Linked DNA regions of Homo sapiens: regions 1, 2 and 4 are each linked to region 3. Evidence: promoter capture Hi-C in human tissues and cell types (Jung and others, 2019). All regions are on one chromosome and are shown on one strand. Each heading gives the region's core, a stretch centred on a gene start or on the middle of the fragment in contact. The rest is flanking DNA. Distances are from core to core; before and after follow the strand shown.

The links. The method cuts DNA at HindIII sites, captures the fragments that hold promoters and counts their contacts. A contact is called where the count stands out against the background at its distance.
Region 1: a fragment that was not itself captured here is called in contact with the fragment with the promoter of KIAA0930 in region 3 in 1 of the 25 tissues and cell types used here (H1 embryonic stem cells).
Region 2: the fragment with the promoter of FBLN1 here is called in contact with the fragment with the promoter of KIAA0930 in region 3 in 1 of the 25 tissues and cell types used here (neural progenitor cells).
Region 4: a contact is called between a fragment that was not itself captured here and the fragment with the promoter of KIAA0930 in region 3, in 1 of the 25 tissues and cell types used here (H1 embryonic stem cells).

The regions. Positions count from the first base shown.
Region 1 is chr22:44,849,835-44,856,664 of GRCh38, reverse strand. All of the region lies in intron 13 of PRR5-ARHGAP8 (PRR5-ARHGAP8 readthrough), which reads right to left. The region is part of intron 10 of ARHGAP8 (Rho GTPase activating protein 8); the gene reads right to left. Among named protein-coding and RNA genes, the nearest start is that of ARHGAP8, 100 kb to the right of the region's middle. The HindIII fragment of the contact is 9,411 bases long and covers 1-6,083 here.
Region 2 is chr22:45,499,510-45,505,830 of GRCh38, reverse strand. FBLN1 (fibulin 1) reads right to left here and starts at 2,948. Exons shown (of 17, transcript NM_006486.3): 1 at 2,767-2,948. The coding sequence starts at 2,845. It overlaps LOC105373066 (a long non-coding RNA gene), which reads left to right and starts at 4,844. Exons shown (of 3, transcript XR_938305.2): 1 at 4,844-5,035. RefSeq lists enhancers at 1-492, 493-1,106, 1,107-1,720, 1,721-2,334, 5,937-6,321. The HindIII fragment of the contact is 10,534 bases long and covers 1-5,499 here.
Region 3 is chr22:45,239,644-45,245,660 of GRCh38, reverse strand. It overlaps KIAA0930, which reads left to right and starts at 4,767. Exons shown (of 10, transcript NM_001009880.2): 1 at 4,767-5,021. The coding sequence starts at 4,958. RefSeq lists silencers at 4,444-4,643, 4,674-4,733, 4,894-4,953, 5,104-5,193. The HindIII fragment of the contact is 11,413 bases long and covers 1-6,017 here.
Region 4 is chr22:44,960,330-44,967,544 of GRCh38, reverse strand. The region is part of intron 2 of PHF21B (PHD finger protein 21B); the gene reads left to right. Among named protein-coding and RNA genes, the nearest start is that of PHF21B, 46 kb to the left of the region's middle. RefSeq lists enhancers at 466-1,088, 1,089-1,710, 1,711-2,334, 2,335-2,956, 3,581-4,203 and 2 more. The HindIII fragment of the contact is 9,378 bases long and covers 551-7,215 here.

The DNA of each region.
Region 1 (6,830 bases), core at 129-2,628, 390 kb after region 3:
TGTGTCCTGAGAACTTGCCTTTATGGCCAGTTTGGCTTCCAAATGCCTGGGGGAACAGCCAATGGTCAGGATGTAGCCCCAAGAATTTACAGGCCGGGCGCGGTGGCTCACGCCTTTAATCCCAGCACTTTGGAAGGCCGAGACGGATGGATCACCTGAGATCAGGAGTTCAAGACCAGCCTGGCCAACACGGTGAAACCCCGTCTCTACTAAAAATACAAAAATTAGCCAGGCGTGGTGGCGGGTGCCTGTAATCCCAGATACTTGGGAGCCTGAGGCAGGACAATCACTTGAACCCGGGAGGCAGAGGTTGTAGTGAGTAGAGAATCTCAGCCACTGCACTCTGGCCTGGGCAACAGAGTGAGACTTTGTCTCAAAAAAAAAAAAAAAAAAAAAAAAAAAAAAAAAAAGGGAATTTATAGCTGGCCAGACAGTAATGTGAGCTGCACTCTGATATGTTGGATGATGTTGCCTGTAAACCTCACATTGAAATGTAATCCCCAATGTGGGAGGTGGGGATGGGTGACGGGTGATTAAATCATGGGGACAGATTTCTCATAAATGGTTAGCACCATCTCTTTGGTGCTGTTCTCATGAGAGTGAGTGATTTCTCAAGAGATCTGGTTAAGTGTGTGGCATGACCTCACCCCATCTTGCTCCCACTCGCACTGCGTGAGACACCTGCTCCTCCTTTGCCCTCCGTCATAATTGAAAGCTTCCTGAGGCCTCCCTGGAAGCCAAGCAGATGCCAACACCGTGCTTCCTATAAAGCCTACAGAAACATGAGCCAATTAAACTTCTTTATAAATTACCCAGCCTCAGGTATTTCTTCATAGCAACACAGACTCGGCGACAGCTGACATCCTACCAGCCATCACCAGCTCTGAGGGCGCTTGTCTTTCTTTTGGCTATCTGTGGGGTAACTTTGGATCCTGGGGGACTCTGAGAACATCTCTTGTATCCATGGCCACAAAAAGTCTTATGGGTTTCGAGTTACATTGGATTAGGTACACCTTTGGTTAAAAACAACAAAACAAAACAAAACAAAAAACAAGGTTAAAAGGACTATTTGGAAACAAACTGGCCAAAGAAAAAAATCTTTAGGGCCTTCTCCTGAAATACTGATAACAACTTTCACCCTCAACAGGTAATCTTAACTTGTATGAAACTATGTATGAAAGTTATAAGATCTTGGTTTGTGGCCAGGCATAGTGGCTCATGCCTGTCATCCCAGCACTTTGGGAGGCTGAGGTGGGGAGATCACTTGAGCCCAGGAGTTTGAAACCAGCCTGGGCAACATGGTGAGACCCTGTCTTTACAAAAAAATATTTAAAAATTAGCTGGGTGTGGTAGTGCATGCCTCAGCTACTTGGGAGGCTGAGGTGGGAGGATTGCTTGAGCCCAGAGGTCAAGGAGAAGGAGACCCTGTCTTAAAAAAAAATTCTTTTTTTCTTTGCAGATCTATGTTATGTCTACGCATGTATGTTATGTATACGTGAAATTATTCTCCCTCTGATGGTATTACCAAGTTAATTTATAAAATCCCTTAAAGGAGTTCTATTCAAATTGGCTTAGAGATACATGAGCATTTATATAAAACATTTCTAAAGCTCTCAGAAATATAGAAACTAAGCCAAACATTCTTTTCAAGTTCTTGTGACTTGAGTAACTCTGACAAGATTAGTCTGATATTGTTAGTTTATTAAAAACAGCTGTATAGGTTGGGCACGGTGGCTCACGCCTGTAATCCCAGCACTTCGGGAGGCCAAGGCGGGCAGATCACCTGAGGTCAGGAGCTCAAGACAAGCCTGGCCAACATGGCAACATGGTGAAACCCCGTCTCTACAACAATACAAAAATCAGCCAGGCAAGATGGCCGGTGCCTGTAATCCCAGCTACTCGGGAGGCTGAGGTGGGAGAATTGCTTGAACCCAGGAGCCAGAGGTTGCAGTGAGCTGAGATGGTGCCATTGCACTCCAGCCTGGGCAACAGAGCGAGACTCCATCTCAACACAAAAACAAAACAAAAAAACCAGCTGCATCTTCTGAGTTACCCATATTAAGTATAATCCAAGCATACATCTTTATGTAGTTGGGCTTACTAGTGAAGTAGGGTTAAAAATGCATAACAAGGGCCTGGCATGGTGGCTCATGCCTATAATCCCAGCACTTTAGGAGGTTGAGGTGGGTGGATCATTTGAGGTCAGGAGTTCAAGACTAGCCTGGGCAACATGGTGAAGCCCGTCTCTACTAAAAATACAATTAGCTGGGTGTGGCGGCGCACACCTGTAATCCCAGCTACTCCGGAGGCTGAGGCAGATGGATCACTTGAGCCCAGGAGGCAGAAGTTGTAATGAGCCAAGATCAGGCCACTGCACTCCAACCTGGGCAACAAAGCAAGACTCCGTCTCAAAAAAAAAAAAAAAAAGATACAAGGGGAATTCCTTGAAATGACAACTAGCCTTATTCAGTGTTATGTATGACGTTACAGTGAGTAAGCAAGGCCGCTTCCTGGCAGGCCCAGGAAACTTAAAATATATTGAGAACCTTGAGAAGAGAGGAATTCTCTCAAATCTACAGATACTGCAGGCAAAGTCTGATGGTTTTTTTTTTTTTTTTTTTTTTTTTTTTTTTTTTTTTTGAGACAGAGTCTCGCTGTGTCCCAGGCTGGAGTGCAATGGTGAGATCTCAGCTCACTGCAACCTCTGCCTCCCGGGTTCAAGCGATCCTCCTGCCTCAGCCTCCCGAGTAGCTGGGATTACAGGTGCATGCCACCATGCCTGGCTAATTCTGTATTTTTAGTAGAGATGGGATTTCTCCATGTTGGTCAGACTGGTCTCAAACTCCCAACCTCAGGTGATCCACCCGCCTTGGTCTCCCAAAGTGCTAGGATTACAGGCGTGAACCACCGCAGCTGGCCCTGATGGCAAATTTTTAACTTGGCTTTCTAGCCTCAAGAGGCTTTTAAAAAGTGAATCTGAGATTCCTTATTAAAAGTTCTAGCAAGGTAGACTTAAAAAGAGCCGACATAGGTCAATTCCCATTCTTGCTGCCCTTATGTAAATAATCAGGCCAAATTCTAATGAAACCAGACTTATTTTGTAACTGAGAATCAAGAGAGAAGCAACGGTACAGAGAAATGATGCTCCCGTGGAAAACTACGGCGCACGCTTGCGGGTTCTCAGTTCCTCTCCTTTCCTCCAATATCTGGCTACGACGCTCCAAGCTAACATTTCCAGTTTTCTCCTACCCCCTGAGTTGGCATGACAAAGAACTAAAACCTGCCATTTCCCCAAAGCCCCAAAAGCTGACGCTGGAAGACTTGATATAAACTTCAGAGAAATCACAGCAGATGATGTACGGATAGTCCTTGTGCCTCCTACTCAGTCTGCTCAGAAAGTTCACCGGAACACCCAGTGCCATCACCAAAGACATCTAAATTGCAAACTATGGAATTCACTGGCCAGCTGCTGCCACTCTCTCTCTACCATGAAAGGATACTTCAAGCCAACATCTAGGAATCTTCTCAACTAAATGTTCTCCTGACTAAAAAAATGGAGTTTAGGCCGGACACGGTGGCTCATGCCTGTAATCCCAGCACTTTGGGAGGCTGAGGTGGGCGGATCACAAGGTCAGGAGATTGAGACCATCCTGGCTGACACAGTGAAATGCTGTCTCTACTAAAAATACAAAAAATTAGCCAGGCGTGGTGACACGGGCCTGTCGTCCCAGCTACTCGGCAGGCTGGGGCAGGAGAAAGGCTTGAACCTGGGAGGTGGAGGTTGCACTGAGCCGAGATCGTGCCACTGCACTCCAGCCTGAGTGAGAGTGAGACTTCACCTCAAAAACAAAACAAACAAACAAAAAACAAAATAAAAAAAATCCCCGGAACTTATGGTTTGTTCAAACCACTGAACTTCATGTTTGTTGACAAAGAAAGGCCCCTTATTAACAGGCTGACTTAGGTAGTCACCCTACTCCCACCTCCACCGCTACCTCCTGAATTGAGACACAACTCTTTCCCTGGAGTGACCTAGTCACAGCACTGAGAGAAGGATTCATGCAACATGAGACAATCTACCAACTCAGTTTCTGGACTGTAAAACTTCCTGGGGAAAGTTCCAGATGGGGGAATGCTGGGGTCCGGAACACTACTGTCCCAAATATGGAGCCTGGGCATGCTGAATATGTTATTGAGCTGAAGGAATCTAAGAAAGGCAGGTGTGGGAAGGGCTCTCTCTGACTCCCCCTACTTCTGTGTAGCAGATCATAAAACCTTCTAATGGGAGGGGGTCTTCCCTATGTCCAGAGGGTGCCTTATCTCTAAAGACGGCGGAATGACAAAAGGAATTGAAGCTCCATGACTTTCCACTCTTCACCAAACCTAGTATCAAAACATTCGGGCTGAACCATGTCTTCACCTTCCTTCACCTTCCTTCCTCCCTTCCTTTTTTTTTTTTTTTTTTTTTTTTTTTTGACAAAGTCTCACTCTGTCGCCCAGGCTGGAGTGCAGCAGTGCGATCTCGGCTCACTACAACCTCTGCCTCCTGGGTTCAAAGCAGTTCTCGTGCCTCAGCCTCCTGAGTAGCTAGGATTACAGGTGTCCACCACCACGCCCAGCTAATTTTTGTATTTTTAGTGGAGACGGGGTTTCACCATGTTGGCCAGGCTGATCTCAAACTCCTGACCTCAGGTGATCCACCCACCTTGGCTTCCCGAAGTGCTGAGTTTACAGGAGTGAGCCACTGCACCCGGCCCATTTTCTTTATTTCTTTTCTTTCTTGCTTGCTTTCCTCCCTCCCTCCCTCCATCATTCCTTCTGTTTTGGGGACATGGTCTTGCTCTTTTGTCCAGGCTGGAGTACAGTGGTGTGATCATGGCTCACTGTAGCCTCCAACTCCCAGGCTCAGGTGATCTCCCACCTCAGCCTCCTGAGCAGCTGGGACTACAGGCATACACTACCAAGCCCAGCCAATTTTTAAAATCTTTTGTAGAGATGGGGTCTCACTATGTTTCCCAGGCTGGACTCAAACTCTTGGACTCAAACTCTTGGACTCAAGTGATCTTTCTGCCTTGGCCTCCCAAAGTGCTGGGATTACAGGCATGAGCCACCATGCCCAGCCTGGGTCTTCATTTTCTTCATTTTCATAAAGGTTCCCATGTCAGGTGGAGGTTGCAGTGTGCCGAGATTATGCCACGGCACTCCAGCCTGGGCGACAGAGCGAGACACTGTCTCAAAAATTAAATAAATAAATAAATAAATAAATAAATATTTAAAAGGCTCCTGTGTCATGTAAAACTTACATTAAATAAACTGGCATGCTTTTCTCGTGTGAATCTGTCTTTTGTCAGAATAACAAGTTACAGGGTTCCCACCAATGAACCTAAGACGGGTAGCAGGAAAGGATTTTTTCCTTCCCAACAGAGGGTTGCTTAATATGACTACGCTCTCCAGGTTTGTTAATTGGTGCCTATCCGGAAGTGGACAAATGTCTGGTATCTTTATGACCGGAGGCAGTGGTGCAAGCCAGAGCTGGGTCCTTCCCTCCCCGGGGACTGGGAGGCAGAGGTAGCACTTTGAATGTTTTCATTTCAAAGAGATGGCTCTCAGGTCCTTGACATAGCTCTGGGTGGTAGATGATTTTCATCTCAAAGGACAGATAAAGGATTCATAATTGCAAGCTTTTTTTTTTTTTTTTTTTGAGATGGAGTCTTGTTCTGTCACCTAGGCTGCAGTGCAATGGCACGATCCTGGCTCACTACAACCTCTGCCTCCTGGGTTCAAGTCATTCTCCTGCCTCAGCCTCCTGAGTAGCTGGGATTACAGGCGTGCACCACCACGCTTGGCTAATTTTTGTATTTTAGTAGAGACAGGGTTTTGCCATGTTGACCAGGCTGGTCTTGAACTCCTATGACAAGTGATCCACCCAACTCAGCCTCTCAAAGTGCTGGGATTACAGGTGTGAGCCACCATGCCTGGCCCACAATTGCAAGCTTTCTAAAGGAACTGCTGCTCAAAGAGGGGTTCCAGGGCCTATCTCCCTGTCACCAGGTTTTGGCTGGAACAAACAGTAAGTTCGCCTGGCAGCATTGAGTTTTCTCAAGCAGGAACCTACAGAGGCTGGAGTCATCATCCCTCTGCAGGGGCTAATGAAGTTGGGAGGCTTCTGGAAGCTTCTCTCTAGGACACAGCCTGGCGCATTCAGGTGATGGAGCATTGTCCATCTTGCCTGCTCTGGCCCCGGCTGGTAGGATGCTGCTGAATGTAGTGCCTCCTTCTGTCTCCACCAGATAGGTACCTCTATGCGCATGATCAAATTTGTCTCCATGAGGCTCAGCCTGGCTCTGAACTCTCCCAGGCTTCCCATCCACTAGCCAAAGTCAGTCAGCCCTCAACATCTTTCATGGTCTTCCAGGGTGTAGGAGAGACCTTCCCCATCTCAGAAAGGGCGTTGCATTTGGCAGGCGCTTAGGAGCACTGCTGAGTAAATGGGTGTAAATTTGCCTTTGAGGGGAGTTTGGGGTCCAGCGACCTTGACAGGACGCCTTGAGACTGAAATCAGTCTCCAGCCCCATGCCCTCCCCAGAGGTCAGGCTGGTCTCACATCACTCAAAGCCCGCACCCTCTAACCATGTAATTGGTCTTTCTGGAATGGCCACCCCTACACCCCTATCTTGAGTCACACCATAACCATGAGTTACCATAAACCATCAGGGCCCCTGATGAGTGACAAAGGTAACTCCTGCCCCTTGGGAAAGTGCAAGGTTCAGAAGTCACCCCCCAGGGGCCAGGACAAAGGCCAGGCTGCCCTTTGGGCAAATGTGATTCTT
Region 2 (6,321 bases), core at 1,699-4,198, 260 kb before region 3:
CATTGCACTCCAGCCTGGGCGACAAGAGCGAAACTCCGTCTCAAAAATAAAATAAAATAATAATAATAATAATATAGCTGCCATGGTAGACACTATCCTATGTTCTCTCTCTTAATCCTCAAGACAACCTAAGTAGGTTTTTGTTCCCTTCATTTTATAAATGAGAAAACCACCAAACCATCTCATGGCTTTTTCTGATGCAAACTGATTTCTAGTCTCACAAGGCCCGTGGAGCCCTCCAGGACCTGAAGATGAGTCAGCCGCGTGCCCCTACTCCTGCCCTACACACCTAACAGGGGTGGCAAATGCAGCCCTGAGTTGGGGGGCACTCAGCAGGGCCAGGAGCGGGGCGTGAGCCAGAGCTGTGGGTGCTGCAGGAGAGGCCCCAGCCCTGACCCCCATGGCACAGAGTCTCATCTTCATGCATTCAGTGCCCTGGCCCCCACCTCCTGACTGGGAAACTTCCAGGAGTGGCGGCACAGACCACACGTTTTCAAGCCAAGTCCTCCCTGGCCTTTGTTCTCCCTCCCAACTTTCTTTTAATCAGTCGGAAACGCTGCCCGGCTGCAGCCAGAGGCCAAGAAAGCCTTGGAGAAAACACAATCGTCTTTTCCTAACACCTCCTCCTCTCCACTCCCTCCCACCCAGCTCTCAGTAAAGCCCAACGGGACGGACAGACACAGGACAGACAGGCGGCTCCTCTCGGCCGTTTGGCAAGAAAGATCAGCGCCCTTCTCCATTTAAGCGGCCGTCGCCAAAGGAGTTTCTGCAGATCAGCTAACAGGCTCACCATCTGCGGCCCCACAGCTCTCTGAGAGCAGGGGCGGTGCCACTTGTGGCCTTACATACAGGGCTTCGGGGGCCTCACAGCTGCAGATAGGGGCCAGGCAGTCTTCAAAAGCCCCTTCCCAAACTGTACCAAATTAAACCTGTTGAAACTCAAAGAGACTTCTCCCCAAAAGAAACAAAAGGCCCACAGGACATCCAGCTGCTTTTATCGAAGTGTGCAATTAGGAGGCTTTTTTAAACCCTTCCAATTACAAACTTCTCTGTGGCTCAGCAGTGAGCCACACTGGGCCCGCAAGTCCTGGGGTGTTCATTCAGTCACACACACATAGGGAGAAATTGTTCGCAAACCGCAGACAGAAAAGAACAGTGAGAGGGAACGCAGAGACTCCGGGGCCAGGGAGAGTTTTACCACGCCTTCTCTCAGGCCCTCAGCTTCCTCATCGACACAATCGGGGCCTCTGAGGCTCCTTCCTTTTCTAACAGGAGTCTCGGATGTCCCACCCACCCATCACCCAGGGCCCCTCGGGGTTTTCCCTCCAGCTGGCAGCCACCCGGCCTGCTGCTTGCTGGAATGCCCTCTTCCCGCGCTCCCCTTACATCAAGCTCCATCTCTTCTAAAGAGCCTCCAGGGAGCCCCCAGGGGCTGCGAAGGCTCCTGGTGCCAACACTGAGCTCTGCGCCTCCCCACACCATCTCCAACCCCACGAGGTGCCCAGGCCGTGCCCAGCACCGCCTGAACAATCAGAGCTCCACAGGGCTCTGCTGCAGCCAGCCAGTCAAGAAAGCTCTGTAGAGCTCAGCTCCCAGCCTCCCCTCCCCCTCCAGCCCCCTTCAGCCCCCTTCCTGGAATCCCCCAGTGAGCATTAGTTGGGACAAGCGACCTTTTGACTAACAAAGGCGGTCACCAGAGGTTAAAAGGAACTCAACTAAACCAGGGATTAAGACTCGGATTCTGAGGGTGGTCTAGGGCACTCCCCTGGACCTGGGCCACTGGAGAAACAAAGACGCCAGGAGTGCCGGGCCTGGCTAGTGGCTCTGAGAAGCCACGGGTCAGCAGAGAGGTCACAGGTCATAGCTCTGCCGCCCAGCAGCTGCTCTGATCAGAGGACCTCGTGGCAGTCCCCCCAGGGACCAGGCCTTGAGGGTTAGAGGGGAGAAAAGCGCGGGCTGGGTGGGCACTGTCCCGGAGCTGTCAGTCCCAGAGTTGGGGCCTAAGGTCTGGGCCATCGATCAGATCTGCTCTTGGAAAACTCCATCCCCCTTGCCGTTGGTGGAAGTGACCAGTCCCCAGTCCCCGCTGAGCACCGAGCCCGGCAGAACCACTGCCTTGGGCCCTCTGTCCCGGGAGGGAGGCAGGGAGGAGGTGGCCAGGTCCGCATCCCCTCCATCCTCCCAGCTACGCCCCAAAAACCTCCAGGCTGCTCCCTGGCTTTCTCATTTCTTCCTCTCCAGCCCCTATCCCAGGACCGCTAGTGTCTCCTGGGGAAAAGACTGCTTCCCACCCTCCAGGCTCAAGTTTCACATCCGCAAGCTGGGTACAACAGCTCCTACCTGGGGGTGGAGGCGGGAAGCGGTGAGGAAAGATAGCCGAGGGCGCTTCCAGCGTCAAGTGCAAGGCGCCCTGGGCTCGGTAACCCCCAGCCAGCGTCCCCCAGCCCAGCTAGCGCCCCTGAACCCCCAGGGCCCGGGATGCGGCCCCCGGAGCCGGCTGGATTTGCTAGGACTGGGGTAGGACGGTGTGTTTGAGGGGTGGGGGAATCCGGTTTTGAAACAAGTCCCCAGGCCGGGGAGGAGATGAGGACCGGAGCTGGCCGTGGGGGAGGGGGGCGTCGCCGAGGCCTCGGCGCTGACAGTCCGGGGGCGCCGCGCAGGGCAACGCACGGACTCCGAGTCCCCGTGGTTCCGAAACTCGCAGGGAGCGCGAGGCCGAGGGGGTCGGGACCCTAAGCTGGGGCGGCGGACCCGGGACGCCCCTACCTCCGGCCGCCAGCAGCGCAAGGCCGCCGAGCAGCAGCAGCGGAAGCGGGACCCGGCGCGACGGCGCGGCGCGCTCCATGGGCGGCGGGCGACGGGCGGTGGGCGGCGGCGGACAAAGGCGCGGGCGCGGTCCTGGGGCAGCGGCGCGGGCTCCACGCTCCGGCCGAGCCTCGGCAGCCAACGCTGGGCCAGGGCCGCGCCGTTCAATTATCCCGCCCGGGAGGAGGGCGCGGCGGAGGCGGGGCCGCGGGTCTCCTGGTCCTCCCTCCCCGGCGCCCCCTGCCGGGACCCTCCCTCCCCGGACCCCGGCTGCGAGGGGCGCGCGCCCACGGCTGGGGGCGAGGGCCTGGATCCCAGACTTCCCCGGAGGGGGCACAGAGGGGGCGCCTTCGGGCCGGATGCCCCCAGTCCTATCCCCCAACACTCCGTGAAACCCGATCCCCTCCTCCCCCCACCCCCTCTCGAGGGGAGGGCTCGGGATCAAAGGTTATCCCCGCCCGACTCCGCGCGGAGGAGCGGGGACCCGGGCCTGCAGTCGGAGGCCCGGCTGCTGGGGGGCACTGGGGCAGGCCTTACCGCCAACCCCGCACCCTCGGCCGGGAGGCTGCAGGTCGGTGGCTAACCCCAGGCGTGTCCCGGGATGGGACCCGACTCTGCCCTCAGAGACAGGGACAGTCGGGCCAGGCCAACAAACAACCAAAATCCCAACGTGTGCTGGGCTCACCCGGGACACCAGGGCCGGAGGGAGAGACCCGGGAAGTCACCGAGGCTGCAGGGGAGGCAGCTTTGGCGCTGGGCCTGCGGGAGCCTCTTGTATAGGAATTCATAGCTACCGGGGTTACTGAGGATGAGTTAGGCTTTGGAACCACAAGTAGATTTATTTTCCAAAGAAGAAGAATAAAATGGTGCAGGTGAAGATGCGGAGGAACTGGATGAGACGCATAGGAACGCCACTGGGCAGCTCAAAGCGGTGTTCCTGTGAGTTCACCATGGACCCCTTGAGCCACCGACGCCCCGCCCAGCCTTACACTCAGCAGAAACGCATACAACATGTGCTCCAAAAGACAGAAAGACATGTAGCCGCACATTCATAATTCCTCCAATTGGGAAGCCTAGCGTCATCAAGGCAGATGAATATCGTGGAGTATTCGGGCTTAGGAGCACGACAAACGGAACAGGAGTGAATGATCCGCAACTCACATAACGGGTAAATCTCACAGACGTAAGTCAGAGTAATAGAGTCAGCCACAAAGGAACACTCGCTGCATGATTCCATTTACATAAAAGGCAAGAACAGGCCGGTGGCGGTGGCTCACACCTGTAATCCCAGCACTTTGGGAGGATGAAGTGGGCGGATTGCCTGAGGTCAGGAGTTCGAAACCAGCCTGGCCAACATGGTGAAACCCTGTCTCTACTAAAAATAAAAATAAAAATAAATTAGCCAGGCATGGTGGTGCACACCTGTAGTCCCAGCTACTCGGGAGGCTGAGGCAGGAGAATCGCCTGAACCCGGGAGACGGAGGTTGCAGTGAGCCGAGATCTCACCACTGCACTCCAGCCTGGGCGGCGGAGTGAGACTCCGTCTCAAAAAAAAAAAAAAAAAAAAAAAAAGGCAAGAACAGTTCAGAGGTCAGGAGAGTGGTGATCCTGGAGTGGGAGCGTGCTGGGCTTTCGGGGGCTGGTTAGGTTCAGCTTTCTTACTCTGGGTATTGGTTACAAGGTTGGGCTCAGTTTGTGAGAATTTATTGAGCTGTTCATTTATGGTACGTGCCCTTTTCTGAATACATGTTGTTTCTTTCTGTTTTTTTGAGATGGTGTTTTGCTTTTGTTGCCCAGGCTGGAGTGCAGTGGCGCAATCTCAGCCCACTGCAACCTCCACCTCCCGGGTTCAAGCGATTCTCCTGCCTCAGCCTCCTGAGTAGCTGGGACTACAGGCATGCACCACCACGCCTGGCAAATTTTGTATTTTTAGTAGAGACGGGGTTTCTCCGTGTTGGTCAGGCTGGTCTTGAACTCCCGACATCAGGTGATCCACCCGCCTTGTCCTCCCAAAGTGCTGAGATTACAGGCGTGAGTCACCGTGCCCGGTCACATGTTAAATTTTAAAATGAAAAACAAAAGGACAAGAACTCATCTCCCCACAGGGTGTCTTATAAGTTTGAAGTTTGCAGAGAGCCCAGGAAAGCTTACCAAGGGGACCAGCATGCTCACGCCTCTGAGGTTAAGGAGGCCCCTCAGGAAGAGGTGACATGCGACTGGCCAGTGAAAGGTGAGCAGAGGTGGGAAGGGTTTCCTTGGTGGTGCCAGCTTTCCTGATGTCTCTGCAAAAGTTTGGAGGCACCAGAGATCCTGGTCCGTTTTGACTTTGGATGGGGTGGGGTGCGGAAACAGCACATCAGCAGATGGCCCGAGGGAGGCATTTCTGAGTTGGAACAGGTTGGGAACTCATTACTACTTTGGTATTAACTTAATTCGTTTAAGCCATCGGAGAATGGGGTGCCCTGGAAGGAGTCTAGATGACTAAGGGAAGGTGGTGGAGGGCGAAGGGGGAACCAGGGGACCTGGGGGATTCAGAAAGAAGACGTAGAAACAGGCAGAGGGGTAGAAGGAAACCAGGAGAAGGCAATATCCAAGAAGGAATCAAAAAGTGATTCTGGGCAGGGCGTGGTGGCTCATGCCTGTAATCCCAACACTATGGGAGGCCGAGGTGGGTGGATCACTTGAGGTCAGGGGTTCGAGACCAACCTGGCCAATATGATGAAACCCCATCTCCACTAAAAATACAAAAATTAGCTGGGCATCGTGGTGCATGCCTGTAGTCCCAGCTACTTGGGAGACTGAGGCAGGAGAGTTGCTTGAACCCTGAAGGCGGAGGTTGCAGTGAGCCAAGATTGTACCACTGCACTCCAGCCTGGGTGATAGCAAAAAAAAAGTGATTCTGGCTGGGACTGCCCAGTGTGGCCCAGTGCTCAGTGAAGCCAGGACTGAGAAGTCCCAATGGGGATGGAGCAGGTGGCCGCTGGCGATGTGACCGGGGCCCTTTCTGGGGATGGGGAGGGAGTGGCTGTGTTGTGGGTGGCTGAGAAGGGGGTGGGGATGAGGAAACAGGGACAGTAGGAGGAGGTGACTCCTACATTCAGCTAGGCACTGACACTGCCCTAGGCAGGCAGAGGGACTGCTGGGAGGAGGAGGGCTGAGCCAAGCCTGCAACAGCTGGGGAGGGAGGCCAGAGCCAGGAGAGAGGACATGGAAACCTGGCCTCTCCCAGCCTTTCCTGAAGCTTCAAGAGCTTACTCCTGTTCTGAGGCACAGCCCCCACCATTTTTTTTTTTTTTTTTTTTTTTTGAGGCAAGTCTCACACTGTCACCCAGGCTGGAGTGCAATGCCACGATCTTGGCTCACTGCAACCTCTGTCTGCCGGGTTCACGCAATTGTCCTGCCTCAGGCTCGGGGGTAGCTGGGATTACAGGCACACACCATCAAACCCAGCTAATTTTTTGTATTTTTAGTAGAGACGGGGTTTCACTGTGTTGGTCAAACTGGTCTCGAACTCCT
Region 3 (6,017 bases), core at 3,518-6,017:
GCCTGTAGTCCCAGCTACTCAGGAGGCTGAGACAGGAGAATGGCGTGAACCCGGGAGGCGGAGCTTGCAGTGAGCCGAGATCGCGCCACTGCACTCCAGCCTGGGCCACAGAGTGAAACTCAGTCTCAAAAAAACAAACAAACAAACAAACAAAACAACAAAAAAACACTGTCTGGCTCTTTGAATAAGATCAGCCCCAAGCATTTGGAGATAAAAATGTGTGCTGTCGGACACCGCTGTTACAATAGTGTAGAGGGATGGCATTAGGCAAACCCCGGGCAGGAACTCTGAAAAATGAAGCAAGACTGACCTATTAAAGCAATTGGATTGTGGTTGTTTTTTCTTTCTGCTAAACTTTGCTTGATTGTTGTTCTAAGTGTTTGCAAAATAAACCTCAGGGATAGAAGCGCTTAGGTGGAGAGCTGACACAATGCCCACATCTCAGGCTTGCCCACGTATTGGTATCACTGCTGTAATAATTACTACAACGTTATTGCCTTAACACATTTCCAGTTCTGTAGGTTAGAAGTTCAACTGAGGTCTTGCTGAGCTAAAGTCAAGGTGCAGGCAGGGCTGTGTCATATCTGGGGGCAACTGTAGGAGAATCTGTTTCCTTGCCTCTTCCAGCTTCCGGAAGCTGCCTGTATGCCTTGTCTTGTGGCCCCTTCCTCCCTCTTCAGTGCCAGCAACATTGCATTTACCTGACCATTCTTGTGTTGTCACATCTCTTTTTGACCACAGCCAGGAAATGTTCCCCGATTTTAAGAATTTATGTGATGAGATTGGGCCCACTTGGATAACCCAGGATAGTCTCCCTATCTCAGTGTCTGTACTCTTAGGCCCCATGTGGCAGCTCATGCCTGTAATCCCGGCACTTTGGGAGCCCGAGGTGGGCAGATCACTTGAGGTCGGGAGTTCGAGACCAGCCTGGCCAACATGGTGAAACCCTGTCTCTACCAAAAAATACAAAAAATAGCCGGGTGTGGTGGCACACACCCTTAGTCCCAGCTACTCAGGAGGTTGAGGTGGGAGGATGGATTGAGCTGGGGAGGTGGAGGTTGCAGTGAGCTAAGATCGTGCCACTGCACTCCAGCCTGGGCAACTGAGTGAGACCCTGTCTCGAAAACAAACAAACAAAAAATCACGTCAGCAAAGTCCATTTTGCCAGGTAAGGCAACATATTCACAGGAATTAGCACAGGAATTAGGGTGTGGGCATTTTGGGGCCATTATTCTGCCTATATACTTTCAATTCTATTTTATATTCTGAATATTTGTATACAGAAAAGTGCATAAATAATTACAAAATGCCAGCTTTATATATATATTACATACATATATTACATATATAACATATATATTATATATATTACATATATATATGTTATATATACATATATATATATTTTTTTTTTGAGACCAGGTCTCACTCTGTTGCCTAGGCTGGAGTGCAGCAGTGTGATCGCGGCTCACTGCAGCCTTGACTTCCCCGCCTCAAGCAATCCTCCCACCTCAGCCTCCTGAGTAGCTGTGACCACAGACGTGTGTCATCACACCTGGCTAATTTTTTTTTTTTTGTAAAGATGAGGTCTTGCTATGTTGGCCAGGCTGGTCTCAAACTCCTGGGCCTAAGCCAGCCTCCTGCCTGCCTTGGCCTCCCAAAGTGCTGTGGTTACAGGTTTGAACCACAGCACACAGCCTTTTGATTTTCTAACTTTTTTTTTTTTTTGAGATGGAGTCTCGCTCTGTTGCCCAGGTTGGAGTGTAGTGGCACAATCTCGGCTCACTGCAACCTCTGCCTCCCAGGTTCGAGCGATTCTCCTGCGTCAGCCTCCAGAATAGCTGGGACTACAGGTGTGTGCCATTACGCCCAGCTAATTTTTGTATTTTTAGTAGAGATGGGGTTTCGCCAGGTTGGCCAGGCTGGTCTCGAACTCCCGACCTCAGGTGATCTGCCCGCCTTGGCCCCCCAAAGTGCTGGGATTACAGGCGTGAGCCACCATGCCCAGCTGTGCAGCCTTTTAATTTTCATAAACTGACCACACCCGTGTAACCAGCCCCCAGATCAAGAAACAGAACATGCTCTGTAGCCCCAGAAGTCCTGCTCCTGCCCTCTTCCCATGCACAGTGTGATTTAGCATTTGTTGACATTAGAAAATTCTGTGTATATGTGAGGTCAGGAGTTCGAGACCAGCCTGACCAACATGGAGAAACCCCATCTCCATGAAATTAGCCGGGCGTGGTGGCACATGCCTGTAATCCCAGCTACTTGGGAGGCTGAGGCAAGAGAATTGCTTGAACCTGGGAGGTGGAGGTTGCGGTGAGGCGAGATCGCGACATTGTACTCCAGCCTGGGCAACAAGAGCAAAACTCCGCCTCAAAAAAAAAAAAAAAAAAAAAGAAAGAAAGAAAATTCTGTGTATAGGTAATACCTGGAGTATTATTGAAATACAAAGGAGAGAGCCCAAGCGATGTTTGTTTACTCATTCATTCAACAGATATTTTTCTGGCACCAGTCCTGGGCTGGGTGCCACGGGAAGTGGGATGAATTGGTTCAATGCTGGTCATATGACACAGAATACACGGAGGCAACTGTGTGCAGGAGGGTGGGGTGGGGAAAGGGGGTTTGTGAAGCAAATAAGAACACAATGCATTGGCCAAGCGTAACCAGGCAATGTGGGTCCCAAAGGCAACTACAGTTGCGGAGCAGAAAGGATTTCAGGCCAAGGGAACACTGTGGGCAAACGCATGGCAGTGGGAACAGGCAGGGGGTGCTGTGGGGTTTGGGGAGGCAAAGAGGGATGTGACTATTGGACTTGACAGCCTTGGAGCACTCGCTCATGCTGTCTGATCCACCATCCCCAGTTCTCACGTCCACCAGCCCAAACCCCAGCTCTCCAGACGCAGAACCAGAGGCCTCAGCCCTCATGCCAGTGTCCTCACTTTACAGACAGGGATGCAGGCCCACTGGAGAAGAGAAATACACGTGAGGCTGGTCGCGCACTTCCTTCATTCCCTCACTGCTCACCTTTCTACAGAGCCCTCCTGGGCCTGGCACTGGGGACACAGAGGGGTCAGATGTGGCTCTGCTCTGAAGAGTTCAGGGGCCAGTGGCACAAAACTGGGGCAGAGGCCTGAAGCAGGATCCAGATCCCATCTCCCTTCTGGGGCTCTGCCCAACCCCACGGCTCCTTCCTGCTGTGCCTCCCAGGAAGACCCCTGCGTCCCCATCAGACCTCTCCATCATTCTTCGTTTATGCAGCCTACATTTTTTTTTCTTTTCTTTTCTTTTTTTTTGGGGGGGGACAGGGTCTTGCTCTGTCTCCCAGCTTGGAGTGCAGTGGCGGGATCTCGGCTCACTGCAGCCTCCGCCTCCCAGGTTCAAGCAATTCTCCTGCCTCAGCCTCCAGAGTAGCTGGGATTACAAATGTGTGCTACCATGCCCGGCTAATTTTTGTATTTTTAGTAGAGATGGGGTTTCACCATTTTAGCCAGGCTGTTCTGGAACTCCTAACCTCAGGCAATCCACCTACCTCGGCCTCCCAAAGTGTTGGGATTACAGGCATGAGCCACTGTGCCCAGCCTGCAGCCCATATCTATTTATTGGGCATCTAATGTGTGCCAGGCAATGTTCTGGGTACTGAGACAACAGCTGTGTAGTAGACAGGCCCCTCCCTCGGTAGAGAAGAGAACAAGTGAACCCATAGGTATCCAATGTGTCGGGAGGAGGTAAGTGTCACCCTGTGAAGGAGAAACAGACTAAGGGAAGAGAGAGGGAGGGAAGGCGGTCAGGGGAGTTTCTTTGAGGATGTGACACTCGGGACACAAAGGAAGCAAGTTACACAGGAATGGGGAGAAGAGGACTCCAGACAGGGGAAAGGGGGACCTTGATGGGTCTGGGGTCCACACACAGGCTGTGAATGCAGGGAGTGATGTAGATTTAGCTTTGGAGAGACCTGGAAATCAATGCTGGTCTCTCCATCTCCCCCTGTTCTTGGAAATGGACCACCAGGCGTGAGGTTTGGGGAGGCCACTGGCTGCTTCTCCGGTGTCTTCCTGTATCAGCCACAACTAGCACACGGAGGGATGCTGGCCAGACCTGGCTTCATCAGGATGACACGCCCAGCTAACCTCATACCTCCCCCTTCATCAACACTCCCCCATGTTGGGGAGGCAAGGCAGGGAAAGGTCCCCCATGGTGCAGCTGAGGAAATGGAGGCGCAACACTCTGCACTGTGCCAGGTGCAGAGGAGGGGGGCCGGAAGGGCTTTGCCACGGTGTCCCCCAGGAGACCACCTTCTGGGAGCAGGTGACCTCTTGAGGGGTTCTGCGGAGGAAGTTCCCAGAAGTCAGCCGAGGGGACTTGGTGGAGGTGGCAACGCACAGGGCGGGTGACAAAGTACACATCCCGTGGGGTAGCAGCGGGGGAGGGGAGAGGTGCCCTGAAGGGGCGGCGGGAGGGGCTCAGAGGCGTGATCCCGTTGGTGGGGCGTTTAGGACCTTGGGTGGAGGCGGGACCCCGCGAGCGGTTTGAGGGAGGCTGTCCTGGGCATCCGAAGATTGGCGGAGACTGGCCGTTTGGAAGTGGGCGGGGCAAGGGAGGTCAGGGGGCGGGGCCAGGGAGCCGGGGTGGGTCCGGGCCGTTCAGAGGCGGGGCGGGAGGGGACAGGGGCGGGGCCGGGGCGGGGAAGGGGCGGGGCCGGACCGGGGCCGGGCCGGGCCGGGGCGGGGCGAGCGGAGCCGGGGGCGCGCGGGCGGCGGCGGCGCGGAGGTGCGCTCGCCGGTGCTGTGTTTGGCGGGTGGTGGCGGCGGCGGCGGCGACGGCGACGCGCACAGAGGCGGACTGTGGCTTCCTTGGTGCTCGCGGCGGGCTGCGGGCCGGGCCGCCCGCCCTCCCCGCCGCCGCCGCCCCCGAGCCTGCGGGCGGCGCCGAGGCCGAGGAGCGCTCGCTGCAGCACATGCTGCGTGCCATAGCGGAGGAGCGCGGCCGTCTTAGCCTGCGCCGCGAGGTCTGCGGCCTCGGTGAGTGGGACCCGGGGGCGAGGCCGGGCCGGGAGAGGTGAGCGTCTCCGGGGCCGCCTCTGCGCGTCCGTGTTTCTGTGCGCCCCGCGCATCTCTGTCTCTGCGCGGGTGTCGTGGTCTCTGGGTCTGCCTGGGTACCCTGTCTTCCTCCATGGCCCCCCCCCCACCGTCCCTGCATCTGGGTCTGTCTCTGCTTTCCGTCCGACGAGCGCCCCGCACCCCTGTGCCCGGGTCTCATTCGGCGTCTCCCCCTGTCAGTCCGTCCGGGTGTCTGTCTCATCTTCCTCCTTCTTCTTCGTGTCTCTGCGGGTCTTCTTCCTTCTCCAGGAAGCCCGCCCCGGGCCCTCAGCACCGCGGTAGGGAGTGTGGGCGTGGGATCTGGGTACACCCTTAGCCCAGCGCGGCAGGGTCGGGCCCTCGTTGGGCTCTGGGTGGACCTCGCTGCGAGCGTGCCCTGGCCACTGTCTCCTGCTACCCGAAGCCTTTGTCTTTCCGCACCCACCGGCCCCTCTCATCCCTTAGCTGTATCCAGGGACCTGTTGGGCAATGGCCCCCCGAACCCGCCCGCTTGGCTGAGGGGCAGGGCCTGCTGCCTCTCGGTGTGATTCTGGGCTTTAAGTCATGGATCTGCTGGGGGGCGTGGGATGGGGGTGCCTCGTATTGTTTGGAAGGGCCTGGGACTGCAGGTGTGGGTGGGGTCTCCCAGCCAGTGAGGTAATCCATTACTGATGGATCATGCCCAGACTGAAGCCCAGGAGAAGCCCCCTCTTTTGTCGTCTCAGGTTCGTCATTTTCTCCATGGAAAAGACCCCTCCCTCCTCCGTGCAGGGAATGACTTCATACCACATTGTCAGCCACCCCCCACCCCACCCCCAGGCTAGGCTGGGGATTTCTGAGGGGGTGACAGCATTGCTGAGTACGGAATGTCAGCCTTCCAGATTCACCCCTTCATTCACCGTTGGGGAAACTGAGTCCCAGAGAACAAGTGCATCCCCC
Region 4 (7,215 bases), core at 3,990-6,489, 280 kb after region 3:
TTATTTTTTAAAAAGTAAAAGACTGGCCGGGCACAGTGGCTCACGCCTGTAATCCCAGCACTTTGGGAGGCCGAGGCAGGCAGATCATGAGGTCAGGAGATCGAGACTATCCTGGCTAACACGGTGAAACCCCGTCTCTACTAAAAATACAAAAAAATTAGCCAGGTGTGGTGATGGGCACCTGTAGTCCCAGCTACTCGGGAGGCTGAGGCAGGAGAATGGCATGAACCCGGGAGGTGGAGCTTGCAGTGAGCTGAGATTGCGCCTCTGCACTCCAGCCTTGGCCACAGAGCAAGACTCCATCTCAAAAAAAAAAAAAAAAAAAAAGTAAAAGGCCTCTTCTGTCGTGGCCCGGCCTCTGTCCCCTGGTCTCTGTGCAGGGCGCATTGGTGGCCACCCCCCGTGAGCGAGAGGACATCCAGCCCCCACCTCAGGGGACTCAGTGGTTGGAGAAAGTTCCTGATTCAGCTCCACGTGGCTCTCCATGGAGAAGCAGAAAGAGAATCGTGTTTTCTTGCAGAGGCATTGAGGTGTGGTCGTCTTTACCTGTGTTTTTTTCTCAACCTGCACACAGGGGACTTGGCCAATGGGCTCTGGGGGAGATTGCAAGTTGGATGGAGAGGCTGGGGGGTGGGAGACAGATCAGCCTTGCAAAGTCTGTCAAGAAAGCGTCTATCTATCTATATAATGCACTAACTCGAGTGTGGGCACTGCTCTGGGAGCCTCTGCAGCGATGCTACCTTTTCCATCTTGGACTGGACCTCACTCCTCAGATTTCAAAGCCATCGCCCATCACAATTTTTCTTGGTCTTGATGGCTTTGCTGGAGGTTACTGCGGGGGCTACCGCTACCTCATGCTGGGGCCTTGATGTGTGTGGCAGCTGGCAGGGTTGGCCTGGCCCCCACCTGTGACAGACGGATGGAGGGACCCAGGCTCTGAAGGGGGGACTTCTGGCTCCCTTCACCGCACCTGCCTGGCCTTGACCTGTGGTCTCCCTGCCTGCCCAGGGACTCCCTGGGGACAGGGGCTTGGTCTCTTGCATCTCCAGTGCTGGGGCCTGTCTTTTCACAGGGACGCTGCAGTGGCCCCAAAGCTCCCAGTAGACGCTGGCCTGCCCAAGGGTTGTGTGGCAAGAGCTGGGCTTGGGGGCCCAGCTTGTCTGCTTTGACCTTCACGCAGATTGTGTGACCTTGGGCAAGTGCCTGCACCCGACAAGGTTCAGACTTCTCTCAAAAAGGGGCTGGAGACTCCGGGTTTTTTGAAGCTCAGTGAGCAGCAGGGCTCGTCGCGTGGTTGGGGACGTCCCCGGCTCTGCCTCTCCCTTTATGCTGGAAAGCTGGGTTGGGGCCCCGGAGCCTGTCTAGGAGGCCCAGGCAGCGTAGGAGCGAGGGACTGGAGGGATGCAGGGAGTGCCCAGGATATGGGAGGGCATCTGGCAGGCTCTGGAGGAGGAGAGTTGAGCTGTGGAAGGGGCTTTCCAGGCTGGAGGGATGGCTGGAGAAACACCTGTCTCCAGAGGAAGACACAGCACTCCCTTGGGTGCCCAGTGGATGAGCAGGCCCGTGGGAGCCGGGCCTTTGGAAGTGGGATTTCTGGATGGGGCTCACCTCCTTTAGAGAGGAAGTGGTGGAGCAGGGGGTGTGCAGCTTTGGGGTAGCGGGTGTCCTGACCCCCTGTGCCTAGGAGTCCCTGCTGAGGGTCCTTGTGATACATGGCTGGCACTAACCCCAGGCTGCTGGGATGGCCCCGTCCGCCCCATTGCCTGGCATCTGGCAGTGGCTCCAGTGTGGCAGTCTGACTTCCCAGCCAGTGGGCAGTGTGGTCCTGCTCCACTGTTCCCAGGTCAGATACCAGCCACTCAGCTCTGGTCTGGAGGGCGAGGGAGACAGACGGCCCAGACAGCCAGAACACCTGGGGGGCCGGGGGAATCGTCTCAGCTCGGGGTGCTGGGAAAGGAGGCAGGGAGGAGAGGCTGCATCTGGGGTGATAGAGGGAAACCCCTCAGCCAAGAACTGGGAAAATGGTGAGAACCTGGACTGACAGGAGGACCAGGGCCGTGCAGGATGGAAAAAGTCGGAAGTGGCAGAACCTATGGGGTAGGGAGGGTGGGGCAGGGTGACTGAGTTCTGGCTGGACAGATGGTGAGCTCCACTGGGTGCAGGTGGCTAGTGTAGTGGTGGCGGGGGAGGGATAGGCACAGACCCAAAGGACCCACATCTGAGGGCTGTGCAGAGGGGAAGAGGCTGGGAGGCATCTTGAGGGGGATGAGCGTGGCCATCCACATACAAGCAGGTGTGCAGCCGAGTTGGCCAGAGGCGGCTGTGTTCAGAGGTCAGGAAGCCTGGCCTGGCAGCTGCCCTGGACAGGTGGCACAGGGGGATGGTCCAGCAAAGCCCGTCTTCGGGCTGCTGTTCAAGCCGGTTGAGTCCCAGGCTGGGACTCAGAGTGGCTGCGGTGTTCACGCCACATTGCAGGCACCCTGTTGGGAGCCCCCCCATATCACAGGGGAGGGAAAGGACGTGAGCCCCTGAGATGCCCCTGCCCCAGGCACCCTATGTGCATTGTTTTCCCAACCACCTCATCTCCAGTGTACGGACAGGAGCCAAGGCTCAGAGATGTTAAGGTGCTGCCCGGCCTCACACTGCAGAGGGCAGCAAGAGCAGGTTTGGTCCACACCTGCTGCACTGACAACTGGCCTGAGAGGCGGCTTCAGGCCCAGTTTACTGTGAGTCTCCGGGAGGTCAGGTGGCCAGGAGACTTGGGCCCGAGACTGGGGATGGAAAAAAAGAGGCTTTTAAAATCCCTCCTAGAAAATAAGTGAATGAATGAGTGAATGAATGAATGAACAGAGTAGACCCACTGGTTGTCTAAAGTCACATGGGAACTTGTGCCGCAGGCAAAAACTTTTCCCCAAAGACCTCACCCTGGGAGTCATCTCCCTTTAAAATGTAGTTACTAATCACTGCAGCTGGAATTAGCATAATCGGGTCATTTAAATGCTGAGCCGCAGTGAGTAAAATCTTCTCCTGCCGAGTCAGGGGCTGTTGTTTCGCTGCTGAAGATCGGAGGTTTGGGAGTGGTCCTCCTCTGCGCCCCCAGGGTTGCCAAATGGCCGGGCCTGAGCTGCTCAGTGGGAGACCCCAGGTTCAGGGGTGCGAGAGTCAGTGCAGGGGGGCCGGGGTGCACCACGCGAAGTCCCATCCTCCCTCGGGCCGAGGCTGCATTGGGAAGAGTGGCCTCACTGTTGAATGTGTCTCTGGGTGGGTCTGTGTTTAGGGAAGATAATGGTTAAACAGTGATGCAGGGAAGACAGAGGGTTGAGGCCTCGGTGAATATTAATATTAACGAGTATATTGAATCCTCTGTGTTTGTCACTGTCTAGTGGCAGCACATACGTACAGATATTCATCTGTTTCATCTTCCCCACAGCCCCAGGAAACACATGCTCTTGCTCTTGTTGGGTCCACTCCTGTGAGAAGGAAGCCGAGGCTTCCAGCAACCCTCCCAACACACAGCTGGACGGGGCCAAGGTCAGGGCTGGAACACAGCTGGCTGGCCCTGGAGCCAGTGCCCTTCCAAAGATGACCCTGAGTGCCCTCTGTGTGCCAGGCTTTGATTCATTACCGGGAAGTCAATGATTTGAGTCAAAGGCAGGTGACAGGTGTGTCCACAAAATTAAGAAATGTCTTGTGTGGCTGGCCCTTGGGGTCCCCCACATGGAGAGAGAAGCTTTGAGCAGAGGTGTGGGGTGGGCCTGCTTCTCCGAACTTTGGTGGTGTTTGTCCTTCAGATGTCACCTGACTCTGCTGTGGGCTGAGTTCAGGTGCTGGGCCTGGCATGGGACTCAGCCCCACATGGCCCCTGGGAGCGTACAGCCAGGGAAGGCCTCGGGTTCTCTGAGTTAAAACAAAGTCTGCGGTGAGTGCCTGGAGGCTGCCTTGCTGTTTACAAAGCATCTTCTTATCCGTTCTCTTCTTTCGTCCTTCAGCCCCACTTCTTGCTGGGGATGATGATGACCATGACGAGGGTTGCTGAGAAAGGATTGGAGAAACCATGGGTCACGTCATCTTAGGGCTCTCAGACCCTGCTTGATAGAAGTGAGGGCTTCATAGAAGTCACTTTATTTCTAGGTAAAAAAACAAAATCCTTAACAGTGAGGGCTGATCCACCCTCAGTACCCTCAAAACACAGTTCAGCATGGTGGGTCATCCTCCCTAACCAGTGTGCTGTCTTGCGCTCGGGGCCGCTGCAGTGGTGTGAGCGTGGCGGGTCGCCCTCCGTCACCAGTGTGCTGTCTTGCCCTCGGGGCTGCTGCAGTGATGTGAGCGTGGCTGCCAGGCCAGGCCTACCATGAGGTTTCCCCTCTGTTCCCAGAAGGGAGAGCAGGGAGTCCATGTCACAGCTGCAGAGTGTCCTTGTGAGAAGCTGAGATCTTGATTCTGTTACGAGGAGGGATCTGGGGGGCAGCCCCTGTGCCCCCAGAGAGCTCAGCTTCCTCATTTCCAGATGGCAATGTCTGCCCAGGGTTGTTGAAAGAACCGGATGAGCCAGTACCTTGCAAACCATGAAGTAATGCAAAGGTAGAACGAGTCATGATTTGTTTTATCATCATGGTGCTTGGAAGAGAAAACTGTACTGCGTGGCTCTATTCCTGGTGCTATGAGGTGTTCTTGTAGGGCCTCTAAATGCATCGGGGCTGAGTCTTCTGGCCACATCGCAAGTAAAGCACGCCCCCACCCTGCCCCAGCCTCCATCCCCCACCGTTCCGTGAGGCACCTGCAGGCAGCTCTTCATCCAGGCATGTGTCCATATAGTACCTGGTGTTCCCTCTGAGCAAGACGCTGGGTTATATGGGACCCAGCTTGTATTTGTCAGAGTTCCCCAGAGAAATACAGCCAGTAGGATGTGTGGTGTACAGATGGTCCCTGACTGATGATGGTTTCACTTACTACGCTTTTGTGACTCTATCATGGTGCAAAAGCAATACACGTTCAGTAGAAAACATACTTCGAATTTTGATCTTTTCCCAGGCTAGCACTATTCCATGTGATACTCACTTGCAATGCTAGGTAGCAGCTGTGAGCTGCAGCTCCCATCAGCCGTGCCAATGTTAGGTGTTCTGAGCACACTAAGTTAGGCTGGGCTAGGCTATGATGTTCAGCAGGCCAGGTGTGTTAAATGTATTTTCAACTTAGGATATTTTCAACTTACAGTGACTTTATTGGGATGTAACTTCATCGTAAGTTGAGGCACATCTACAGATCATTAAAAAGTTATGTGAGGCTGCAGAGAAAAGGGAATGCTTATACACTCTTGGTGGGAATGTAAATTAGTTCAGCCACCATGGAAGGCAGTTTGGAGATTTCTCAAAGAACTTAAAACAGAGCTATCATTCGACCCAGCAATCCCATTAACTGGGTATATATTGGAAAGAAAATACATCATTCTACCCAAAAGACACATGCACTTGTGTGTACATCTCAGCATTACTCACAATAGCAAAGACATGGAAACAACCTAACTGCCCATCAGTAGTGGATTGAATAAAGAAAATGTGGTACATATACACCATGGAATACTACACAGCCATAAAAAAAATAAAATAATGCCCTTTGCAACAACATGAATGCAGCTGGAGGTCATTATACTTATTTATTTATTTATTTATTTATTTATTTATTTATTTATTTATTTATTTTGAGACAGAGTCTCGCTCTGTCACCCAGGCTGGATTGCAGTGGTGCGCGCAACCTCGGCTCACTGCAACCTCTGCCATGCTGGTTCAAGCGATTTTCCTGTCTCTGCCTCTCGAATAGCTGGGATTACAGGGGTGCACCACCACGCCTGGCTTATTTTCATATTTTTAGTAGAGACTGGGTTTCACCATGTTGACCAGGCTGGTCTTGAACTCCTGACCTCAGGTGCTCTGCCCACGTAGGCCTCCCAAAGTGCTCGTATTATAGGCATGAGCCACCACGCCCAGCCTGTAGGCCATTATCCTAAGCAAATAGAGCAGGAACAGAAAACCAATTACCACGTTTTCACTTGGAAGTAAGAGCTAAACATTAGATTCACAGGGACATAAAGACGGCAACAGTGGATACTAGGGACTCCTAGAGCAGAGAGGGAAGGAGGGGAGCGAGGGTTGAAAACCTGTTGGGTACTGTGCTCACTACCTGGGTGACAGGATCAGTTGTACCCCATATCTGAGCATCACGAAGTATACCTATGTAACCTGCACCTGTACCCCCTGAATCTAAAATAAAAGTTGAAATTGTATAAAAAATCAGTCTGGGCACGGTGGCTCATGCCTGTAATCCCAGCACTTTGGGAGGCTGAGGCAGGTGGATCACGAGGTCAAGAGATTGAGACCATCCTGGCCAACCTGGTGAAACCCCATCTCTACTAAAAATACAAAAATGAGCCGGGTGTGGTGGCGCGTACCTGTAATCCCAGCTACTCGGGAGGCTGAGGCATGAGAATCGCTTGAACCAGGGAGTCAGAAGTTGCAGTGAGCCGAGATCGCGCCACTGCACTCCAGCCTGGGTGACAGAATGAGACTCCTTCTCAAAAAAAAAAAAAAAAAATCAACTCACGTGATTTTGAAGGGACAGATCCTCAAGTCCCAGGATCTGCAGTGGGCAAGCTGGAGACCCTGAAGAGTCGATGCTGTAAGTTCCAGTCCAAAAGGAGGCTGGAGACCTGAGAAAGGCTGATGCATCAGTTTGCGTCCAAAGGCAAGAAAACCCTGGTGTCCAGGCTGAGTGCAGGCAGACAGCAGGACTTCTCTTACTGAGACAGTTTGCTCTGTTCAGGCCTCCGGCTGGTTGGATGAGACCCTCATTCACTGGTGAGGGCCACCTGCTTTACTCAGGCCACTAATTCAGATGTGAGTCTCATCCAGAAACATCCTCACAGACACACCAAAGTAATGCTTGCCCAGATGTCTGTGTACCCCATGGTCCAGTCCAGTTGACACAGTGACTATCACACAGCTCTTGGGGAAGACAGACATGGGAAGAACCAGCAGCCCAGGTCACCCATGGCCCCTTAATATGGGTGCAGACAGCAGTGACTTCCAGCCAGTGGAGGGTTGGGCGACGACCTGGGGAGCAGGTGACCATAGTCGTTGAGGGACAGGAGTGGGGGGCTTTGCCTGGTGCTGCCGGACTGCAGTGTCGACCCAGAATTTTCTCATTTTTCGGGCAGTGAAG